Regions from separate parts of the Homo sapiens genome. Here regions 1, 2, 3, 4, 5 and 7 are each linked to region 6. Evidence: promoter capture Hi-C in 16 types of primary human blood cells and fetal thymus (Javierre and others, 2016). All regions are on one chromosome and are shown on one strand. Each heading gives the region's core, a stretch centred on a gene start or on the middle of the fragment in contact. The rest is flanking DNA. Distances are from core to core; before and after follow the strand shown.

Region 1 (3,127 bases), core at 196-2,695, 850 kb after region 6:
ATCAACAAGGAAATAAATTCCCAGGAGAGGTAGGTGATGTTATAATCTGATGAAACTGGGAAGGCTTTTAGGGAGATGAAAGGAACGATGACTTACAGTAGCTATGAAAACAAGAACACCATTAACTCTAACCTTCAGTTAGAGATACAATGTGGGGTATGGGAGAAAAAAAAAAATCCCTGAATGACAGATTACATTAAATAATGTCACTATTTGGTGTTTGGCATTAAACAATAACAGAAACATACAATTGTAAGAAGAATCACAAAGGTAACATACAAAAAAAGAGAATACAGTTATATGGAGATTATCATATAGTTATAACTAAATGACATAACTAATGTAAAGCATATATATGGAATGCAAACGTACTCAAATATTAGTTCTCCTTTCCCACCTCTAAACTACCCAATTCTCTAATAATGTCAGAAAAACAAATTTACAAAACATTATCTATGAAGTTATTTTAAACACTGTTAACAATTAGTCATGAAAGAAATCATGACAATATCTTTGAACTTTAATATTCCATATACTTTTTGAGACAGGGTCTTGCTCTGTCACCCAGGCTGGAGTACAGTGGCACAACCATGGCACACTGCAGCCTCGACCTCCCAGCCCCAAGTGATCCTCCCACCTCAGCATCCTGAAGTAGCTAGGACCAGAGGTACGTGCCACCAGGCCCGGCTAATTTTTTTTTTTTTTTTGAGATGGAGTCTCGCTCTGTCACCCAGGCTGGAGTGCAGTGGTTCAATCTCAGTTCACTGCAGCCTCCGCCTCCTAGGTTCAAGCAATTCTCCCTGCCTCAGCCTCCCAAGTAGCTGGGATTACAGGCTTGTGCCATCACGCCTGGCTAATTTTTGTATTTTTAGTAGAGATGGGGTTTCGCCATGTTGGCCAGGCTGGTCTCAAATCCCTGACCTCAAGTGATCTACCCATCTCAGCCTCCCAAAGTGCTGGGATTACAGACGTGAGCCACTGCGCCCGGCCTAATTTTACTTTTTTGTAGAGACGAGGTCTCACTATGTTACCCAGGCTGGTCTTCAACTCCCAGGCTCAAGTAATCCTCCCACCTCGGCCTCCCAAAGTGTTGGGATTACAGGTGTAAGCCACTATGTTTGGCCCATATACCAGATAGTAAAATTTAACAACAGGGCCAAGAAAAGCATTCCTGCATAGCCAATGTTATCATCACTAGCCAAAACCAGCAATAATTTTTTTAAAATCCAAAAGATAACAGTTTAAGAAGACTCAATTTAACTGAAGTAATACTGAGTCTAAGGTCACTTTTTCAAATCAATTCAAATATGTACTAAACAGTAATATCATCATGACAGCATTACAAATAGTAAGTTCTGCGCCTAATTCATTTCATTCCTATTCCTCTAAAATAAAGAATGAGAGAGAAAAAGAAAAAGCCCAAAACAGTATTTCCTGATTCCATCAGGTGAACTGTTTCTCATATGGACTGCTTAAATAGGATTAGAAGGATTCAGTAGTTGAACAAATAATCCTAAAGAGAATTTATAATGGATTGATCAAACATGGTAAAATATAGACTGCTATTAATATATATTCTGTATATATATTATATTCCACATGCTGCTAGTCTTCTCCTTAAAATATACAACCTCCCCAGCTTTAAACTCTAAAAGGTTCACCATTACCTAAAAGATTAAGTACAATTCCCCAGCATGGCATACAAATCTATGACCTACCTCTTCTTTGTTGTTGTTGTTTTTGTTTTTTGTTTTTGAGACAGTCTTGCTCTGTCACCCAGGCTGGAGTGCAGTGGCGCAATCTTGGCTAACTGCAAGCTCCGCCTCCCAGGTTCACACCATTCTCCTGCCTCAGCCTCCTGGGTAGCTGGGACTACAGGCACCCGCCACCACACCCAGCTAATTTTTTGTATTTTTAGTAGAGACGGGGTTTCACCATGTTAGCCAGGATAGTCTCGATCTCCTGACCTTGTGATCCACCCGCCTCGGCCTCCCAAAGTGTTGAGATTACAGGTGCAAGCCACCATGCCCGGCTATGACCTACCTCTCTAACCTCGGACATCTTCCATCACTTTCTGTCTTAAACTTCATGCTGTAATAGTAACTTCTACTGATGATCCTTCCTTGCCCCTGGTATTTTACGTTACTGCTCCTTTGTTCATATTGCTCCTACTGACTGGAACGCACTCCCTTCTCTCTCACCTGCCTTATTATGTATCTCTTGAGAGCTATTTTGATGTTACTCCCCGCCAGATACTTTTCCTGATAATTCAAGTTGGGCTGAGTACCTTCCTATGTTCCCACAGCATCTCATTACACCTGTTAAACGTTCAACATTTTTTTAAAAATTAAATTTCTGGGCATGGCTCACAATTGTAATCCCAGTACTGTAGGGGGCCAAGGCAGGAAAACTGCTTGAGCCCAGGAGTTTGAAACTAGCCTGGGTAACACAGTGAGACTTCATCTCCACAAATAAAAAAATTAGGCATGGTGGTGCGTGCCTGTTACCTCAGCTACTTGGGAGGCTGAGGTGGGAGGATCACTTGAGCCTGGGAAATAGAGGCTGTAGTGAACTGTGATGGAGCCACTGCACCCCAGCCTGGGCAACAGAGCAAGACCCTGTCTCAGAAAAAAAAAAAAAATTAAATTTTTCCTTTTGGCTTTGATGAAGTAGGAAGCAGCAAATCTAAACTCCAGTTGAGAATGACTAGAAAAGCTGTTAACAACCTCTTTTTAAGATTCCTTAGAGTTCTAAAATTCTACTGAAAATCATCTGTATATCAACAATTTGTGGCAGGGTTTTATCTTTGTAAATCAAAAGCACTTTGGCAAAATAAATTGAGAACATCTGAAAGTATGTGCCACTTTGACCAGTTTCAATGTTTTCCCCAAATTCATGTAACAAAATTATCATGAACTTGAAAGTACTATTACATAATATAAAAGAAGTTCTCTGCAAGTGCCAAGAACACAGTAAGGTACCTGAATGAATCATAAAGAAATGATAATCACCATTCACTTAAATGCTTACTTTGAGTCTATTATATGCAAGTAAACAAAAATGACACCACCATACCCCTCAGGGAAACTCACAGTCAAATCACCAGAAAATTATAATACTTTGTGCT
Region 2 (3,247 bases), core at 41-2,540, 870 kb after region 6:
ATATACTTACTGGTTGAGCAACCTAGTCTGAAAATCCAAAATGAGCATTTCCTCTGAGTGTCATGTTGGCACTCAAAAAGCTTTGGATTTTGGAGCATTTCAGATTTTTGTATCAGGGATATGCAACCTGTACTAAAAACCATTGAATTGTACACTTTAAATGTATTACTTCTATGGTGTTTGAATTATAATAAAGCTGCTACCCAAAAAATGAAAAACAAAAATAATTCAATTAACATCTTCATAACCTCTTTGGGGCTATTCCTAGGTCCAACAATATTATGTTTTTATGGCTTTTACTGAATACCAGTTGCCAGTTGCAAGGCAGAAGATTAAACCAATTAAAATGTTACCAGGAGTCTTTAAGAGCTCCCATTTAATTATATACTTATCCTTATTAAAACTATCTTACTGCCTATGAGATTGCCAGTGACAATTTAATCTACTATAAATATAATTACAAGTAATTAATAGGTGGGTAAGTAACTAGTTGCAGTTGTCTGAACAAAAAGTATGGATATTTTCTTTCTTTTTTTTTTTTCCTTTGAGACAAGGTCTCACCCTGTCACCCAGGTTGCAGTGGTGCGATCTCAGCTCACTGCAGCCTCAACTTCCTAGGCTCAAGCGATCCTTCCACCTCAGACTTCTAACTAGCTGGGAATACAGGTGTGCACCACCATGCCCAGCTAACTTTTGTATTTTTTGTACAGACGGGGTTTTGTCATGTTGCCCAGGCTGATCTCGAATGCCAGAGCTCAAGCAATCCAGCTACGTCAGCCTCCCAAAGTGCTGGGATGACATGCATGAGCCACTGTGCACAGCCAATATGGACATTCTTGTTCTTCAGTATCCATTTGTAAGACCATACTTTAATTCACTTTTTTTTTTTTTTGAAACAGAGTCTCTCTCTTGTCACCCAGGCTGGAGTGCAATGGTGCAATCTCAGTTCACTGCAACCTCCATATCCCGGGTTTAAGCAATTCTTCTGCCTCAGCCTCCCGAGTAGCTGAGATTACAGGTGTGCCACCGTGCCTGGGTAATTTTTGTATTTTTAGTAGAGACAGTTTCACCATGTTGGCTAGGCTGGTCTCGAACTCCTAACCTCAGGTAGTCCACCTGCCTCGGCCTTCCAAAGTGCTGGGATTACAGGCTTGAGCCACTGCGCCAGGCCATATTTTTTTTAATAACTAATAATTGTTTTTACAATTAATTGTAGTTGTAAAAAATCGAAAGTTTATGAAATTCCCTGAGAAAATAAATAAGATATATAAAGAGAACATATTATCCGCGTATTGGTAAATAACTTCTATTTAGTAATTCTAAATAGTAAAGTTAGACTACCATTCTACACGGCATTTCTAGGTGTGGTAGTTCATGCCTGTAATTGCTTTGGGAGGCCAAGCTGGGAGGATCATTAAGCCCAGGAGTTTGCACCAGCCTGGGCAACACAGAAAGACCCTGTATCTGAAAAAAAAAGGAGAGAGAGAATAATAATAACTAACACATGTTGATCACTCACTATGTAGCAAACATTATACTAAGCATTTTTATTGCATTCTTTTGTGTTTATCCCCACAGCACTCCTCTATAGTAGGTATTTTTGTTGTTCCTATTTTACAAAAGATAAAGAGGTAAAGTAAATCCCAATATTCATCACATAGCTTAGAGGGGCACAGCCAGGATTCAAACCCAGGTTGACTATCTCCAAAGCATGGTATGTTTTTAATCACTACTCTTTACTGCCTCTCCCTTAGAAGTTTCTGGCTTGCAGTAAATTTTAGGACAAAAATAGTCACCTTGTGGTGATTTTTGGCTTGTGTTTAATCTTAAATATTTTTAAAAATCTAATATGCAGTTATTTGTGTGTCTAAAGAGTAGATTTTTACTGGAAAAGGATTTCAGACTTGTTTTATTTCATGACTAGAATATTAAATCTTGAAATTAAACTATACCTTGCTTCAAATCAAAGAGGAGCAGCATAAGGAAGCACATGAGAAACAGCTATCAGAATAAAGACAGTGAGCGGGTGTGATGCCTCATGCCTGTAAGCCCAGCACTTTGGGAGGCTGAGGTGAGTGGATCACTTGAGGCCAGAAGTTTGAGACCAGCCTGGCCAACATGGCGAAACCCCATCTCTACTAAAAATACAAAAAGTTAGCCGGGCATGGTGGTGTGTGCCTGTAGTCTCAGCTACTCTGGAGGCTGAGTCAGGAGAATCGTTTGAACCTGGGAGGCGGAGGTTGCAATGAGCTGAGATAGCGCCACTGCACTCCAGCATTGGCGACAGAGTGACATCCTGTGTCAAAAAAAAAAAAAAGGAAGTATAAAGACTGTTCTGTAATGCAAAATAGTGTAAAGTGAGACCTCTTCAGAAGTCTAGGAAAATGGAAGGGAATCAAATTGATGGCCAGGAAGTGGTTCGCTATCATTAAATATTTCTAGAAATACTGCCTACATTTTTAGGAGTAAAGAAAGCAAGGCTGTTTCATGTTTAATGACAGAAGCTTCTATTCTCCTTTGTCCTAAATGAAATTTTTAGATAATGTTTCCACAAGACAATTTATGAAGGTACTATCTTGTAGGAGAGATGTTAAAGCCTACAAGAACAAAGGAAATTATTTACTGTCATAATCACTTAGCATCTGCCCACACTTTAGGATTCTTTTAACAACTTCTAAAATATTTTTCATTTATCTATACAGAGATAGAATGTAAGAGGAGTAAATGTCCCAAACCAACTTGGCATCAAGATATTAAGAGAAAAAAAAGTCCCCATTCACCAAATAATATAAAGACCTCCTCCTTAATATTAAGTGGGGAAAGTGCTCAGAGGGAATAAGTCAAGGAAGCCTCAAGCTGCCTTTTTTTTTTTTTTTAAGAGACAAGTGAACATTTATTTTTGTGCCTTTCTTCCTATGTGTATTTCAAGTCTTTTTCAAAACAAGGCCCCAGGAATCTCCAGATTCAATTGTGTCCCTGGGCTTGGTCGACTGCTGCAGGAGTCTTAGGGAACCTTGTACAAATGCTAGAGTTACTCATTTACCAACATTAAACCTTAGGATAGAAGATGCAACAAAAGCAGGACTCCTTCTTCCATGGAATATGCTGATTTCAGATGAGGCGACAGCCAATGTAGAAAACGCTGAAATTTTTCCTTGGAACTGGACTGTGATGAGAGGTGCTTGCCATGAACCTAAGCTACTGTCTTTTGTTTTCTTTTTTTTTTTTTTTTTTGAGACAGAGTTTC
Region 3 (3,266 bases), core at 195-2,694, 940 kb after region 6:
CTTCCTCAGAGAGGCATTCCTGTCTCCATTGCAGGTTCTGTGAAGCAAGACTTATCTAAGCAGGAAGTTTGGGGCTGCAAACCACTTTTTTTTTTTTTTTTGAGACAGGGTTTTGCTCTGTTGCCCAGGCCAGAGTGCAGTGACATGATCATGGCTCACTGTAGCATAGACCTCCCAGGCTCAAGCAATCTTCTTGTCTCAGGCTCACATGTAGCTGGGACTACGGGTGCATGCCACCACGCCCAGATAATTTTTAAAATTTTTTGTAGAGATGAAGTCTCGCTATGTTGCCCAGGCTGGTCTTGAACTCCTGGGCTCAAGTGATCCTCCCACCTCAGCCTCCCAAAGTGCCGGGATTCCAGGTATGAACCACTGTGCTCAGCCTAATGACAGAAAACAGCCCAGGCAGGGACCCAGCAATAGTGAGTAGACGGGGAGGGGGAGTATGGCCTCATGTCAGCTTTACGTATCCTTATCCTCAGGTTCTTTCCTTTCAGGGCTGCTTTCCACCAGACTTCTTTGATGAGGTTAGGGATGATCCCTTCCTTTCCCTTCATGAAGTCACAACATGGTGCAGCCTAGAAATATATAGCTAGTTGCTTTCACAAATGTTTGTATTCAGTCATCACATATGAAGCAGACACAACTACCTCTGGCTTTTTGTTTTCCTCAGTTTAGAAAGCTGAGGCTCAAGACCATGGGAATTATTCAGGGTATTCAAGGCACCATTTCTAATGAGTAGGAAAGCTGAGACACAAAGCCAGTTTGATCCATGGCCAGTGCTTTTGCCCTACACCTCAGACATACCAGGGTATATGCTGGGGCCTTGTTTTATTTATGTATTTTTGTATTCCTGGTGCCTAGTAGCATGCCTGGCACTCAGTGTGTATTCACTAAATTTCGATTGAATAAAAAGCTAGGATTTATTGTCAAAAACCATATCTTTGAGGAGAAAGATGATATTTGGAAAATTGTAGCAATTTTGATGCCTTATGAAGTTCAGGGAAGTCTAAGTCATTTAGGGAAGCACTGCAACTGTCCCATGAGAGTGCCCTATTTTCAAGGTAGAAGCTTAAGTGTGAGCAGGTTTGCAGCACACTTGTCAGGAGTCAGGGATTCACTGAATGTAGTCAGTGTTTCTGTGTGGGCACTCCCTGCTTATTACCCATTCTGTGAGCACCTTTTAGTTTCAGTCTCACATGTCACTGAGGACAATGGGCTGCACATCAGGCTTTCATGGGGTTATTGGTGACAGTATCACCCAACCCCACTGCACCCCTACCACATGCTGTAGAAAACCAAGTATCTTAAATTGTCTGGAAGTTCTTGGGGGCTGCCAAGTTTCTGATTTCCTTATTTTGTATGTGTGCATGATACAGGAAATTTGCCTTCCAGAAAGCTCAGGAAAGGCTAATGGGTAAAGCCTGATTAGCCTAAGGGGAATAATGTCTTTTTCATAAATAACACTTTCAGCTCCGGCAAGGTAAGCCAATGTGATAAGGACAAATAGAATGAGGAGAATTTTTTTTTAAAAGATATATTAACAAACAAAAAATTCTGCAAAGTAAACAGAGAAAACCTACATAATCCCCCAGCCCATTTCCTAAGAATATCATCATTCTTAAAATGAGGTGTTTAAAAAAGAGGATGCTGTATTAATAATTACTGGATCTGTATTTTTAATGATTGCTTTCCTTTAATCTTAAAGAGATAAGTGGACTAACGTGGATAAAGGGCTCCATCTTGGACAACTTGATCAGTCTTTTCTTCTGTGCTGAGCAGGGCCTGCCAAGAGCAGGAAATTCAACGCCATTTACAAAGCTTTCTTGTCTTACTCTCAGAGAAAGCCATCACTGTTCACATCATTCAAGAGGCTGTCTGTAAAAGGACACATAAAATACCAGTTATGAAATATAGAGTACACATTTAGTATAGCTTCATATCATTTAGTGCTAAGCAGCAAGATGATTATGTCAAATAAAAGTTATCACTTATTTATGTTTAAAAGATCAGATAAGCATTGGATAAAATTATGTAGCCTAAGCAAAGGACAATTTCTAAATCTTTTCCTTTTTGTTTTATATAGTCTGTTATTTTTAAAGTCTTCTACCACATAAATTTGCATTTCCTCTTTCACATCACTTATAAAATAACGTATGTTCCTTTTTTACCTTTGCCTTCTTACTTGAAAAAAACATCCCCAGTCTCCTTCATGCTTTGATCACAAACTCTTCATTTCTCTGATGGTGGATAGTTGGTCGAGCTGCTTTCTGTCTGTGGGCCCTGTCCACTCAGCCTATTGATGCTCTGTACAATGAGCTGTCATCTCTGTAATTTTAATCTTAGCTCTAGTCTCTAAGTTAGTTTCATGCTCCTATTATGTTTATCAGCATAGATTTCCAGCAAGATGATTATGTCAAATAAAAGTTATCACTTAATGTTTAAAAGATAAAACAAGCATTGGATAAAATTATGTAGCCTGTAAATCATTTAAAACTGGTGTGCTAATTTTATCTTATTTTCCAAAACCCTCACCAAGCTCACACCTCTCTGAAATAAGTGTTAGCTTTTTGGGCTGCCTTCCCCCAGTTGCTCTGTGCTCCAAACAGATGCCTGTGTTTAGTCCGAGCTAATATGCAAAGGGACCTAGTTTTAAAATTCCTTAGCTGCTCCGCAAAGAAGAGCGCTGCCAAAGCTATGTTGTGTGCCTTCCCATATTTCACAAGTAACAAAATAATTCACAGAAAACACATAGAAGAACAGAAAGGAGAAATCTCTTCCCAGGGACTATCTGATTATGTAGATTAGAACTCACGAATATGGTATTTTCTAATTTAGGAGGGAGAGAGTAAACAAATAAATGTTCCAGGGCAGTCAACCACATGCCCCATTGATATTCCGTGTGAAAGTGTCTCTGGCCTAAGGCACCTGGTTTGTTTGCTTTTTGTCCCGTCCTGGGAGACGTGTCGCCTATAATAACAACGCTAATTATAATGAACAATAAATGATAATTTATGGGTTACCAAGGACCAAGAAGCTCTGGGAGTCTTCATTAAAACAACAGCACTACAACCTCTGGAGGTACGCCGTAATTATTAGATGTTTACGTACCCTCATCAGCGTGCTAAGTTTTTATTGAAAAGCCCCTCCTTCAGTCCCTCCTGAATTTTTTTAAATTATGGAAAAATTCCAAGACACAGAACTAGAAAGAATACTGTAATGCAGCCTCGAGTACCCATCACCCAGCTTCGACCCTCAACTTTTTG
Region 4 (3,149 bases), core at 213-2,712, 960 kb after region 6:
TTTCATTTTTGTTTTTTTTTTTTGAGATGGAGTCTTGCTCTGTTGCCCAGGTTGGAGTGCAATGGCACAATCTCGGCTCACTGCAACCTCTGCCTCCTGGGTTCAAGCGATTCTCCTGCCTCAGCCTCCTGAATAGCTGGGACTACAGGCGCCCACCACCATGCCTGGCTAATTTTTGTATTTTTAGTAGAGACGGGGTTTCACCATGTTGGCCAGGCTGGTCTCGAACTCCTGACCTCAGGTGATCCATCCGCCTCGGCCTCCCAAAGTGCTGGCATTACAGGCATGAGCCACTGCGCCCGACCGAGAACTAGTTTTTTAAGCTGAAAAAAGGGTACTCAGAATGCCAAAAACCTTCAGCACAAACGCTTCTTTCAAACTTCTGCACGAACAGACTTGACCAAACTTTAACACGGCTTCTAGCAGACTAAGGTTGTGTCCCTGGGGCAACCTAGCCTTCTTTTAAGTTCCTGTCTGGAAAAGCTCAGGGCTGTGAAAAGAATTTGCTGTTTGTTCCAGCCAACACCTGAAGATAGACCCCTGACCTCCTTACTTAGAGCATTTACCAAACAGGGCTTACAATTGTGAATTCTTTCTCTGTCTCTTTGAGATGTATGTGTATCTCCTGCAAGTCAGGAGTGTCTCTCTCAAGAATCTGAAAGCCATTCCTTTGAAATGTAATTATCAGGAAGGATAGGGCCCTGGCTCCTAACTGGTGTTAATTGCCAGCTAGCACGTGCAGCTGGCCTAATTATGGTGATGCCCACCAACCGTTTGTAAGGCTTCACCAGAGTCCCACAGGCTCCTCCTCCCTCCTCCCGCATCTTCCCCTTTAAAACGCCCAGTCACCTCAGCACAAATCAGAATTGAGCTCTGCTCCTTCTCTTACTCTCAGTAGTTACTGAATAAAATCTGTTTTCACCACGTTAACGGACGGTTGTTTATCTTTGACAATAAATACTAAGATCTATCTTCCCAACCTCACAGGGCTGTGAAGACGGAATAAGTTAATGGGGAAAATAAAGTTGTGAAGCTCTTTGCAAATATAAGTTGTTGTCAGTGTGAAGGCTTTGCATATATTGTTCTTAGAGAAGGTTTTAAAAAACTACATCAAAGTATTTTTCTGTTACTATATCTCCTTTGTAAAAATGTAAGCAATATAGAGAAAGTGGATAATGCCTCTAATACTGTTCCTCAGAGATGCTACTGTCAACAGAATGACATTTATCATTTCATTCTTTTTATGCAAGTATAAACATGTAAACTTTAAAAAAATGTATAAGCACGATCCTACTCTATGTATGCTTCTATAACCCACTTTCCTCATTTAACAATATATCAGGGGCATACATCAGTGTCAGTAGATATAAACCTACTTCCTTATTTTTAAAGATTGAAGAGGGTTTTGTTGGATGCTTACGTGATAATTTATTTAACTGATCTCTTTCTGATGGATGGCTGTATTATTGACAATTGTTCAGTATTTTAAATCAAAGCAGCAGTAAACATTCTTGCACATACATTTCTGCCTACCTGGGTAATAATTTCTTTAGGATGCATTTCTAGAAGTGAAAATCTTGGGTCCAAGAGAATGTACATTTAAAATGTATACTGTGTTGACCTGCATCCCTGAAAGGGGATATAGATTTATATTCCCATCAGTAATGCCTTTCAGTGACAGTTTCCTTACTTCCTTGACAGGTAATTTTGATGGGGAAGGGGGAGGAGGGTCAGAAAGGCAAATGGGGTCAATTCGATTCCTAAAGAATTCAGAGGAAGGTGTCACTAAAAAGGATGGGAGGAAAAAGCACAGACCCCAAAAGCTGGGCTCAGAAAGTAGGCAGTGCCTGACTACCTTTTGGTCCCAGGTTCCAGCTCGCCCACCACTGAGAAACACACATCCTAAGCCACCAGAACATGGGGACTCCTTTCCATAGGATGTGGGAGGCAAGCAACTGCAACGGCTCCCCTTGGGCCTGGGCAGGCAAAAGCCTTTCTGTACAGCACTGGAGAAAGCTCTGCCTGCAGCTATACCTGCCTGGCCTCGGCTCTTGCCTCATCTTGCACATTAAGGAGGAGCAAGGTTGATGTGTCCCACGAAGGAATGATCAAAGTCTAGTAAAGCTGCCAACTCTAAGAAGTGGTGCTGCGCCTGAACTTGGGGCCTGGCTTGGGGAGCAGACATTCATCTTTGGTTGCTCCAGGGAAACATTTCATGTTATTTTCGGGTGGGGCATTGGAGAGGGGGAAAAGGTGAAGGTGGCAGACTCATATTTTACCCGCCTCCATGTCTGTGTTGTACCAGCTGCCGTAGTTCTTCTCTTTCCATTTTTTTCTTATTAATTTTCTTAAATTGAAAAGATTGGAGCGCATTAACTTTCATGGGGAAAAAAACTTTAAAATACTGTTTGAATTCTCATCTTTTATGTATCCATTCTAATACCGCAAATGTCTTCATGATATATGTTACCTGCCAGCTGTTGTCGCAGGGGGTTGTGTTTTTCACATAGTTTCCAAGGGCTAATCCTTTTTTCCTTTGCATCTTACACTAAGCAGCTTTAGAGCACAATGGTGCAGCTGCTTCACAGCTGTTGTCTGGACTTAGGGCAAGAGCCCTGTTTGGGGTTGAATGATTTGACTCCTTTATGCAGTTTCCAGGACCCTGAGTTCTGAGAACACACACAGGGCTGCTCAAGCAAGAATGAAATGAGCCTACAAGAGACGCTTCTCCTTTGTCTGAGGCACACAGAGAGAACTGCATTTGCTCACCCAGGGCCAGCCCCAGCAGGCTCTCAACACTGCTTTTCTTCCCTTTCTTGATGCTGTTAGAAAAACATGAAAAAGATGGCACAGAGAGAAGCAGACCTAGTTATCCAATTCTTAAAATCTTTAAAAGCCATACTCCTGGTTTGTTGAAGCCAACGAGATTGTCTGCTCTTAGAGGGCAAGTAACCTACTATATTCAAGACCTGCAATTATGCTCAATAGATATGCATCATTTTATCAACTTGAAGAAATTAGAGAGGGACCTAAAATGCTAAAGAGGGAGGCTGGCTGGACATGAGGCAGAGCTCATGGTAACCACACCTTTGTGGGGTCACCAGAATTCAAGGTGAGAACCTCAGCTCTGCCAGCCCAGAGCTAGAATC
Region 5 (3,283 bases), core at 34-2,533, 910 kb after region 6:
AGGAATAACAAATTAACTACAAGGTTAGAAATTACAATTTAGGGGTCATGCAGCCTCTGGCTCCAAGAGTCTGAACCTCCCCAAATTGCTCCCGGGGATAATATCACTATTTTAAAACCTAAGATCAGTGCTTGAGATGTTTTGCAGACCCTGCACTTGATGGATCAGCTGACACCACCCAGACCAGTAATCTGGCCCAACCAGCTCTGCCGTCATATCCAGGAACAAAAGACATTAAGAAAATCTAACTTTGACCCACTATGATTCCATCTCCTACCTGAGTAATCAGCATTCCCCACTTCCCAAGCCCCTGCCTGCCAAATTATCTTTAGAAACTCTGATCCCCAAATGCGCAGGGAGACTGATTTGAGTAATAATAAAAACAGCTGGCTCTGCGTGAATTACTCTTTTACCATTGCAATTCTCCTGTCTTGATAAATTGGTTCTGTCTAGGCAGCGGGCAGGGTAATCCATTGGGCATTTACAGTGGGGTAGTGGAACTCCCCATCTGACCTTGCCGCTGTGTAATGAGGAGGTCCTGGGGATATAAGCCCAAGGTGGTTTGGGTACGGTTTACTATTATACATTTTAGGGAGACATGAAACGTCAATCAATATGTGTAAGATGTATATTGGTTCAGTCCAGAAAGGTAATGAGGATGGTGGAGGAGTTCTCGCCAATGAGCATCAATTTCTTTTATCCCCCCAAGCTTTACAGAGGTAAAACTGACAAAAAAAAGTACAGATATTTAAGGCATGTAATGATTTGATATGCATACATGTTTTGAAATAATTACCACAAAGTAATTGACATATCCATAAGCTTACATAATTACCTTTTTATTTTAGGGGTGAGGACACAAGATTGATTCTCAGCAAATTTCAAGTATATAATGTATTACTGTTAACTATAGTCATCATGCTGTACATTAGGTCTCCAGAACTTATTCATCCTGCAGAACTGAAACTTTGTACCCTTTAACCAACACTTCCCTGTTTCCCCAACCTTTGGGCCCTTGGTGAGCACTCGTCTACTCTCTATTTCAATAAATGCAACTTTTTAGCTTCCACATGTAAGTGATGTGAAAGGAAAATAGATCTGGGACTTATCACTAAGCCAGAGGGAAAAGTCAAGCTGGGAACTGCATCAGGCAAACCTGCCTCCCATTTTATTACTAAGTAAGATAGCTACAAAGATAAAAAGCTAAATACTTCCCTCACAATTTCCCCAGAAGGAGATTACCTGTGGGCCACCAGGTCTTTACCCTAAAACAGTTCTGTTGAATTTCACCTTGGCAATGTAAATTGACGGCTTATCTTCACAGGAGCAAGAAAAAGGACAGAACTCAAAGGCATCCCTCTGCTCACCTGAGATAAATGCCTGTCTGATTTGCCTCCTCTGTCCCATTGTTTATGTAAAAATCCAGATTCACTGAGCCAGACTAAGGCTTAAATGACAATTCCTCTACCCCCTCTCACATGTAAGTTGTGTATTCACTGAAAGGCTCATCAAAATCCCAGAAGAATGCAACTGTTTGTTTCCTGTCTACCTATAACTTAGAACCCCTCCCCACTTCAAGTTGTCCTACCTTTCTGGACTGAACGAGTATACATCTTACACATATTGATTGATGTTTCATGTCTCCCTAAAATGTATAAAAGTAAACTGTACCCAAACCACCTTGGGCTCATGTCCCCAGGACTTCCTGAGGCTGTGTCACAGGTGTGTCCTTAACCTTGGCAAAATAAGCTTCCTAAATTGATTGAGACAGGCCTTAGATACTTTTGAGTTAACAGTGATATCATATGACATTTATCTTTTTATGACTGGCTTGTTTCACTCAGCAGAATGTCCTCTAGGTTCATTCATGTTGCTGCAAATGGCAGGACTCCCTTCTCTTCTAAGGCTGGGAAATATTCCACTTGTGTGTATTCCAACATGTATTCATTTGCATTCATATATAAGTATATATATTCATTTATCTGTCGATGGACACTTAGGTTGACTCTGTGTCTTGGCTGTTATGAATAATGCTTCAGTGAACATGAGATTGCTGGTATCTCTTCAAGATAGTGATTTAATTTCTTTTGCATGTATACCCAGAAGTAGAACTGCTCAATCATATGGTAGTCACATTTTCAGTTTCTTGAGGAACCTCCATAGTCTAGAATAGCTGTACTAATTCGCATTCCTGCCAACAGTGTTCAAGGGTTCCCTTTTCTCCACATCCTTGCCAATAAATGTTATCTTTTGAGCCTCAATATCTGAAGAGGGGAATCTGATTTCTAGCTAGTCCCTGAGAGAATAAACAACAATGTAGGGAATTTTTGGAAATAGGGAAGATTTATCTTTCGTTTGTTTGTTTGTTTTTGAGATGGAGTCTCGCACTGTTGCCCAGGCTATAGTGCAATGGCGCGATCTCCACTCACTGCAACCTCCGCCTCCCAGGTTCAAGCAATTCTCCTGCCTCAGCCTCCCGAGTAGCTGGGATTACAGGCGCCTGCCACCACGCCCGGCTAATTTTTTATATTTTTAGTAAAAACAGGGTTTCACTATGTTGGCCAGGCTGGTCTTGAACGCCTGACCTTGTGATCCGCTCCCCTTGGCCTCCCAAAGTGCTGGGATTACAGGCGTGAGCCACCGTGCCCAGCTGGGAAGATTTATCTTTAGAGGTCTGTGAATATTCTGTTTATTTGCTTCCAGAGTATCTCATACCTATTTATCTCCACCTCCCCCATGCCAGCTTTTCCTCCCACATCACATATGCAGTTATTTACACTCAGAGTGCAAATACAAACACACATGCAGAGTCAACTTCAGAAACTCTCTTTCTAAATTGTTTTATTTTTTCTGCCAAGTCCAAACTTTGTCAGCTCTGATGGAGCCAGATGATTATTCATGAGGTAAATGCCTGGTATAATTCATGGTTATGAAAGCATTTATTGATTCATAGCTTAATTTATATGTAATTGATGAGCAAATGTTTTTTGTTAGGCTATTAATTTCATTACGAGTGTTTGGGCTTATATATCCTATGCAAAAAGATCTTTGTGCTTTTCTCATTGGTCTCTATTCCCCAATTTTCTGATTTCATACCTTCAGTATACTGTAATATTTTGAGCAACCTATCCCTCTCCCTCCAAAAAATAGGGCTCCTTGGACATAATCCAGCTCCCCACTCTGTGGACATGCATGGTTCCCTGAAGATTATAGACAGAGAGAAAGTGGTTGCCACACAGTTTCTCTAAGTCTAGGAGAAAGTTTGATGAAATCCACAGTGTTA
Region 6 (3,254 bases), core at 253-2,752:
ATTATGCTTTGCCATGGTGCTTTTTGAAAAACTGCCTTTAACTGCCAGATTTCAGGTACTCACTTAATTACTTTTGGAAACTCAGTTAAAGGAAGATATCCATTGCCACCTGGAATAAAATAGCTTTACTGACTGGAGAGTGCAGTGATTCAAAGTAGACTAGGCCTGGGCTTTTTTATCTGGCCGCAGCAAGTGCAGACCAGTGGGAGAAATGAAGCGTGCAGTTATGGATGCTAACAAGAAAGGCTGCTGCTCCAGTGATTATTTTTCTTTTTTAAGGAAAAAATGATCCCAGTAATTCTCTTTTGTTCCTCTTTTGACACAGCTTGGTGGATGTGGGGGAAAGGGCAGATGAAATGACCAGTGAAATCAAAAGATGAAGTCTTCTTAAAGGACTGGCTCTCCAGCCCAATCATCTAGAGGAAGAGACAAGTTCAGATTCTTGTAGGGTATCTAAATGCATCTGTGCCTGAAAATTATGGCCGTTTGAGAAAAACAAGAATTCATGGTGAGACAAAGCAACACAGACTGTTGGTACAAGATACAAAGCCACTAAGTCAGCGTTCAGCAAAGACTGATGGATGAATTGTCACCCAGCCTAAAGGACTGGCCCAGCTACCAACTGCCCCTGCCCAGCCCAAGAGGGCAAGAACACAATAGACCGCACACCCACGTCTCATCCCCAGGCGCACACCACTTCAAAGGCTACAGCAAGCAGACAACATAACCTGCCTCTTCTGCGGTGTCTTTCATTCAGTTCTGTTTCTTCATGAAGTGGGAAGGAAACAAGTTTGGGCCCACCTGAGATTGGGGTGTAGACGGAAGGAGTGGGGAGAGATGCAAACGACAGAACACAACCGAAGGCCTTTTTAAAAGTCAGGATCCATAGCCTTACTTATCACTGTAAAGGGAACAGAGTCGGCTCCATCCTTCCTCATCCTTCTTTAACCCTCGCCTACCAAGCCCTGGAAGACAGGGACGCAAGAAGAGCTCTAGCGCGGAGGGTCTGCCTGAGTGCTGGTCTTTCCCATACAAGATGTAGCAGCAGGGATGGGAGGGTGAGCTGGACGACTCCACAACACACACACAGCCCGCCCCGCCTCACCTTCTCGATACTCTGGTCTACAGCCTTCTGGAAGACCCGGGCCACCAGCAGCGTGACGCTGGTCACCAGCAGGAGCAGGGACAACGTCCCCGCCGTGTAGAAGCAGCATCGGCCCATTCTGTGCGCCGCTCACGGGCCGGGCCGGGCCGCACCCGCCAGGGATCCAACTGCAAGGAGGGAGGAGCCGCCGCAGAGGCGTCGAAGACCCGGGACCCTTCGGCGCCACGCCCACGCCCTCCCGGCGCACGGTTCGTGCGCGCAGCTCTGGGCTCCGCGGCCTGGCGAGCGCGGCCCCGGGTGCACCGGGCGGATGGGGCCGCGGAGGGACGGGCCCGGACTCGGTTTCGGTTTCCTTCGCCGGGCAGCCGTGGCGCCCGCCTAGCGCAGCTCGGGAGAGTGCAGGGAGCGCGCAGGGACGTGACGTTCGCGGGCCGGGCTCGCCGCAACCCCGCGAGGCAACCGCCGGCGACTGCGCGGGGAGGCGGGCGGGGGCGGAGGCCGCAGTCATGTGCCCTGCGGCGGCGGCAGTGATTCGGCCCGCGCCCTCCCCGGCCGGTCCCCGGTGGCCCTGAGTGGCTGCGGCGCCTGAGCCAGGCCCGGCCTGGCCGCTCCCAGCGCCCTGCACCGCAGGCCCAGCGCTCGCCCCACCGAAATTGCCGAACCTGGTTCACACACTCATTTACTCATTCCGCAGATAGGTCTGAGGGCCTCCCATGGGCCACGCGCTGGGGATTCAAGGTGGCTGGGACATTCCCCTGCTCTAGAGGCGCTCGCAAGTTAGCGGGGACACCGTTACCGCAATTACAACACAATGTAGCAAGTGCTTCTACCAGGTGCCTGCTGAGATCATGCCAGCAAGCATGTTCTGCCTGGATGACCTAGGGCCCCACATTGAACTGGGGCCTGGGGGATGCATAAGTTTGTCACGTAAGGGGCATGTGCAAGAATGGAAGATGTGCAAAAAAGGGAGGAGGAGGCATTTCACGGAGAAGGAAACGGTGAGCAAAGGCATTGGGGGTGAAAGAGCAAAACCTGTAGGAAGCAAGAAGGAAGTTCCTTTTGACTGTAGGCTCAGGTGTTCAGGGGGTGGAGTCGGAGGTGTTGAGGCCCCAAGAGGTCAGACTTTGAAGGGCTCTTGGTATCCTGTTAAAGATGTGGAAGTTGGGAAGGAGCTTAAAGCAGGCATCGCTGGTGTTCTTGCCTGCTTTGCTCACTGTGGTGTCCCAGACACCCAGGACCAAGACCTGCACACAGCCAGGACTCAAGAAGTGTTCGTTAAATGAGTGTTTCTTCTACGCCAGCCCTTTACTAGTTTCTTTGCACAGTTCTACTCATTTAATACCCTTGGCAGTCCTATGAATAGGAGGTTGTGTTTGTCCCAGTCCTCCAGAAACAGTCCCAGATGGGGGTACTATGCAAGAGAGTTTTGAGGGAAAACAGGGAGCTGGACCTGGGATGCAGGTGTGATCCTTGTGAAGGAAAGAGGCAAGCAAGGAAGGAAGGTTGGGTGGAAGGAAGCATTTGATATATATACAGTCCATGTATAAAAAGTTCAGCAAGGCCATTGGGGTGGGGAATCCTTTAGCCAAATGGGCTTGTCCCAGAAGTCTGGCATCTCCCAGAAAGAGGCCCGCCTTAGTATCCCTGCTGTGCTCAGTCATGAGCTGGGAGCAGCCTTAGGAAGCTGGCCTTTGCAGCAACCTAGGGATAAATATCAGGGTATGGATTTCAGCAGAGCTCAGCAGTTGAGGCGGAGCCATTGGTCAGTTATGCTATCTACACTGCAAGATCCAAGAAGTACATTTTCTTGGCAACTATAGTGTATTATCCTCATTTTACACTCAAGAACACTGGGGCTCTGAGTTAAGTAACCTAACAAGCTCAACTGGTTGCTGAGTGGTGGATCCTGCTTGAACCAGGATGTAGGGCTGGCTGTTGGCTTCCAAAACCCTCACTTTTTCTACTCTGCGCATTGCTGCATCCCGATCTGTCACTAATGAGAATCTGAGGACAGCAAATCAGTTAGGAGGCTTTGTTGAGGACTTGGTGAGATAGCATGATGGTTTAAAAATGGTGGCAAATTATTTGTTACTCCTTTCGTTGAGAGGTGGGGTCTATACTTTCTCGCTTTGAATTTGGGCAGGTTTTA
Region 7 (3,082 bases), core at 428-2,927, 790 kb after region 6:
ACATGTGTTTTGTAAAGAGGAACTCGACTATTTTTATCTAGAAATGCCTAGATATATTTTATCTATGCCTGATATAAGTATGAGCACCACAGTAATGACAGATAAATGTTTAATTCATTCTTTAGCTGAGCACCAAGCTCTTTATTTTATCTACAAAGCACTTTAAATGCTCTTCAGTAGACATTGTCCCGTGATAACAGGAACAATTGGTAGATAGAGTGAGAAAGATTTTATTTTGCATACCAAAATGGACTATCTGTACATTGTGCTGGGGCAGGGAACAAGTTCAGCTCTGACACTGCAGCTGAGCAGTTGCTCTTAATATATGACCTCAATGACAGGGAATGATGGAGAGGCCCCTGCCTGAAGGCTGTTTGTAATGCCAAGAGCAGTAAATGAAGAGAAAGGCCTGGTCATAAGGAAAGGGGCACAAGTGCATTGTGGGAGCTGGGAAGAGAGCCGGGGGTTTCAATCATTGCATACTCACAGAATATACCCAGAGCAAGGCCTGTTCTCCATCTCTCAGACTGGTATAGATTTTCTCACTGGCGTTAGGAAAAATCTTGCTTGTCCATTCCTTGATTGGAAGACAGCAACTGTACTTTTTCAGGATCCCTCCCCCAAGGAATGAGAACCATCCTCCACATAGCCTCTTGCTGAGATTCCCTGTGCTCTTCCAGCTCACTGGGGTTGCCACAGTGCTGCCACTCAATTTTTGCCTCTCCCCTAAACTGGGACTTTCCCTCGGGCTGCTGGTGGCTTTTCACTCCCCAATCAGCACTCAGCAGCAAACAGTTAGCACAATGCATATCCTCATATTTGCAGCTGGAGCCCTCCTTAAGAAATTATCTGACTCATTTGGGTCAAATAATAGTTTCCAAGGAGATTTAGAAGAGAGGAAGTGTGATATTAACTTAACCTAGATACCAAATATTTTTTTTCCTCTGAAATTTCTTGACAGCTATTGCATAACCTCTTTAAATGGCACTTAAAACTCTCTGTTACCCTGTGCCTCAGAAGGTATTGTTGACACTGTTGACTGTAAAGCCAAATTACTTGTTCACAAATTGTTATCTGGACAGGCTCTGCCTCCCTCAAGAAACTGGAAGTGGGATATTCATTTCTGCATCAATATATAACCATATGGAAAGGGATGTGGTATTTCTCTATGCCCATGTTGATTTTTACCTACTTTGGGGATTAGGCAAGCTTTTCTGCCATAGATGCAAGACTTCAAGAATGTCCCAGTTTGTTTATGTAGGCTTTGGACATGTCAACATTCCTGTATTATTATCTGCCTCAGACCAGGCTAGCTAGAAGGAGGCAGGAAGAGAGATCTGGTAAGGTTTCCTGTTATGTTTAAAAGCACATTTCACTCTTTGTTATTTAAGGGCTTCCTTGTTTTGGCTGTTTGTACTCTTCAGTGGAGAAAGAAAGGGGCCTGGGGAAGAAGGGAAAGCAAGTTTTGTTGTTCAATTGGAAATAGAATAATTAGTTTGCCCCACACTGGGGAGATGGGAGGTGAGCTGTCCATGGCGTATCACTAGCTGTAATGATAGTTAGCCCTCAAAGGCAGAGATAATTGAAATCCCCTGAGACGGAATTTCAACCTCACCAAATCTTTATCAGAGTTATAAAACAGTAGTGAGATGGACTGTTTGGCCTTTAAATTTTAAGTTTTTAATCACACTTTCTGGTGGAGGTAGTCAAGGGATAAGGAAAATTGGCTAACAGACAGCAAGATAAGGGAAAAACATGGTAAGTATTTGGTCGTATATGAAGTGGAAAGTCAGTCCCTGAATGATGGCATTGGCCATTTTGCAAGAATGATCAGTGGGTAGGTTGGATGGATGGATCACATTGTCTAAGTATCTTTTTCCATCGGTTTTAGGGTTAGCCTCTGTCATTTTTGTGTGTGTGTATGTTTTATGGCTGGAGGTATATGGAAAAAAAAATGAGTGCTGTGTAACAAGGAATATCTCCATGCCTTAAAAGAAAATGATGTGAAAACGTAAGGGCTAGATTGGATTTGTCCTCCTGTCTTTCCTCTGATTGATATGGCCACAATTCAGGGAAGTTTTAATTGGCAAAAAAAATATAAATAAGTGTTAGTAGGAATGGGGCTAGCAAAAGGCTAAGTTGGGATTAAGCTTCCTATCTTTCTCACTTTAGATGGAGAAGTGGAAAGGATTTGGAGGAAGAGGCAGATAATTCATCTCATCTACAGGATGATGATGAGGAGTACAAAACCACTTGGCTGGCTTGAGTCTCATCAAGAAGAAATTATTTCATCAGCATAATTAAATCTTTGACATAGGGAATAGTGGTTTTGGTAAATTGTTGTCCAGGAATACATTTCTTTTTATTGGTTAATAATGGTATGGAAGGTAAAGTAGATGGGATTTCATATTTATTATGTGTATGACATAAGAGAAGGAGGCTCCAGGTTGAATCCCAGGTTTCTGACTTGGCCAGTGGTGTGGGTGGTGGCCCACCATGCTAAGGAATACAGGGAAAGTGAGGGTTTGAAGGCAGGATGAATAGTTCAGTTTTGGACATATTTAGTTGGAGAAGCAGTTGAAAATATAGGATAACCAATTGTGGATGGGTCTGAAGCTCAGAGGAAAGATCTGGGTTGGAGGTAGAGATTTATGACTTGTCATCAGATAGATGGTGAGTGGAACACAGGAATGAGTATGATTTTCTAGAGGGAATACATAGAGTGAAAAGAAGGGAGACTGAATGATTGGCCAGGACTCTCTAATAAGAACAGGTAGAAGGAAGCCTGAGATATTAGAGAACAAAAGATATCTTGAATCCAGTGGGGAAAGCATTCCTCACTGCAAAATGAGTGTTGTTATGCTTCTCATTATCTTTGGAGGATCAGAATCAAAACCAGAGGCAAGAAGGGAAACTAATAGAAAACAGAACCATATTTGGACTACTATTGAGAGGAGGAGGTGCTAAAAGCTAAAAATCAGACACAGGGGAGGCAGGGGAGCAATTGCTGTGAGCTGCTTCTCTTACCCTTTGGGATAAGAGGCTGCTGGGGAAGAGCCCTAATCCCCAAATCTGCCTCAGT

What was found. The method cuts DNA at HindIII sites, captures the fragments that hold promoters and counts their contacts. A CHiCAGO score of 5 or more calls a contact.
Region 1: a contact is called between a fragment that was not itself captured here and the fragment with the promoter of SCARB2 in region 6, in 1 of 17 cell types (monocytes). The highest score is 6.1, in monocytes.
Region 2: a fragment that was not itself captured here is called in contact with the fragment with the promoter of SCARB2 in region 6 in 3 of 17 cell types (naive CD4 T cells, non-activated CD4 T cells and naive CD8 T cells); the score reaches 6.5 in naive CD4 T cells.
Region 3: a fragment that was not itself captured here is called in contact with the fragment with the promoter of SCARB2 in region 6 in 2 of 17 cell types (naive CD8 T cells and monocytes); the score reaches 6.0 in naive CD8 T cells.
Region 4: a contact is called between a fragment that was not itself captured here and the fragment with the promoter of SCARB2 in region 6, in 1 of 17 cell types (neutrophils). The highest score is 5.9, in neutrophils.
Region 5: a contact is called between a fragment that was not itself captured here and the fragment with the promoter of SCARB2 in region 6, in 1 of 17 cell types (M0 macrophages). The highest score is 5.9, in M0 macrophages.
Region 7: a fragment that was not itself captured here is called in contact with the fragment with the promoter of SCARB2 in region 6 in 2 of 17 cell types (M1 macrophages and M2 macrophages); the score reaches 6.7 in M1 macrophages.

The regions. Positions count from the first base shown.
Region 1 is chr4:77,059,935-77,063,061 of GRCh38, forward strand. The region is part of intron 2 of CCNI (cyclin I); the gene reads right to left. Among named protein-coding and RNA genes, the nearest start is that of CCNI, 14 kb to the right of the region's middle. The HindIII fragment of the contact is 3,762 bases long and covers 1-3,127 here.
Region 2 is chr4:77,078,731-77,081,977 of GRCh38, forward strand. No RefSeq gene overlaps it. Among named protein-coding and RNA genes, the nearest start is that of CCNI, 4.4 kb to the left of the region's middle. The HindIII fragment of the contact is 2,424 bases long and covers 79-2,502 here.
Region 3 is chr4:77,153,099-77,156,364 of GRCh38, forward strand. LOC101928864 (a long non-coding RNA gene) reads right to left here. Exons shown (of 2, transcript XR_244659.5): 1 at 2,172-3,266; 2 at 1,656-1,878. Among named protein-coding and RNA genes, the nearest start is that of CCNG2, 2.5 kb to the right of the region's middle. RefSeq lists a silencer at 1,256-1,325. The HindIII fragment of the contact is 750 bases long and covers 1,070-1,819 here.
Region 4 is chr4:77,174,779-77,177,927 of GRCh38, forward strand. No RefSeq gene overlaps it. Among named protein-coding and RNA genes, the nearest start is that of CCNG2, 19 kb to the left of the region's middle. RefSeq lists enhancers at 1-329, 330-976. The HindIII fragment of the contact is 7,211 bases long and covers 1-3,149 here.
Region 5 is chr4:77,122,622-77,125,904 of GRCh38, forward strand. No RefSeq gene overlaps it. Among named protein-coding and RNA genes, the nearest start is that of CCNG2, 33 kb to the right of the region's middle. The HindIII fragment of the contact is 927 bases long and covers 821-1,747 here.
Region 6 is chr4:76,212,322-76,215,575 of GRCh38, forward strand. SCARB2 (scavenger receptor class B member 2) reads right to left here and starts at 1,503. Exons shown (of 12, transcript NM_005506.4): 1 at 1,106-1,503. The coding sequence starts at 1,222. It also overlaps a transcript of FAM47E not described here. RefSeq lists silencers at 904-1,308, 1,222-1,841. The HindIII fragment of the contact is 5,631 bases long and covers 1-3,254 here.
Region 7 is chr4:77,006,769-77,009,850 of GRCh38, forward strand. The region is part of intron 3 of SEPTIN11 (septin 11); the gene reads left to right. Among named protein-coding and RNA genes, the nearest start is that of SEPTIN11, 59 kb to the left of the region's middle. The HindIII fragment of the contact is 941 bases long and covers 1,208-2,148 here.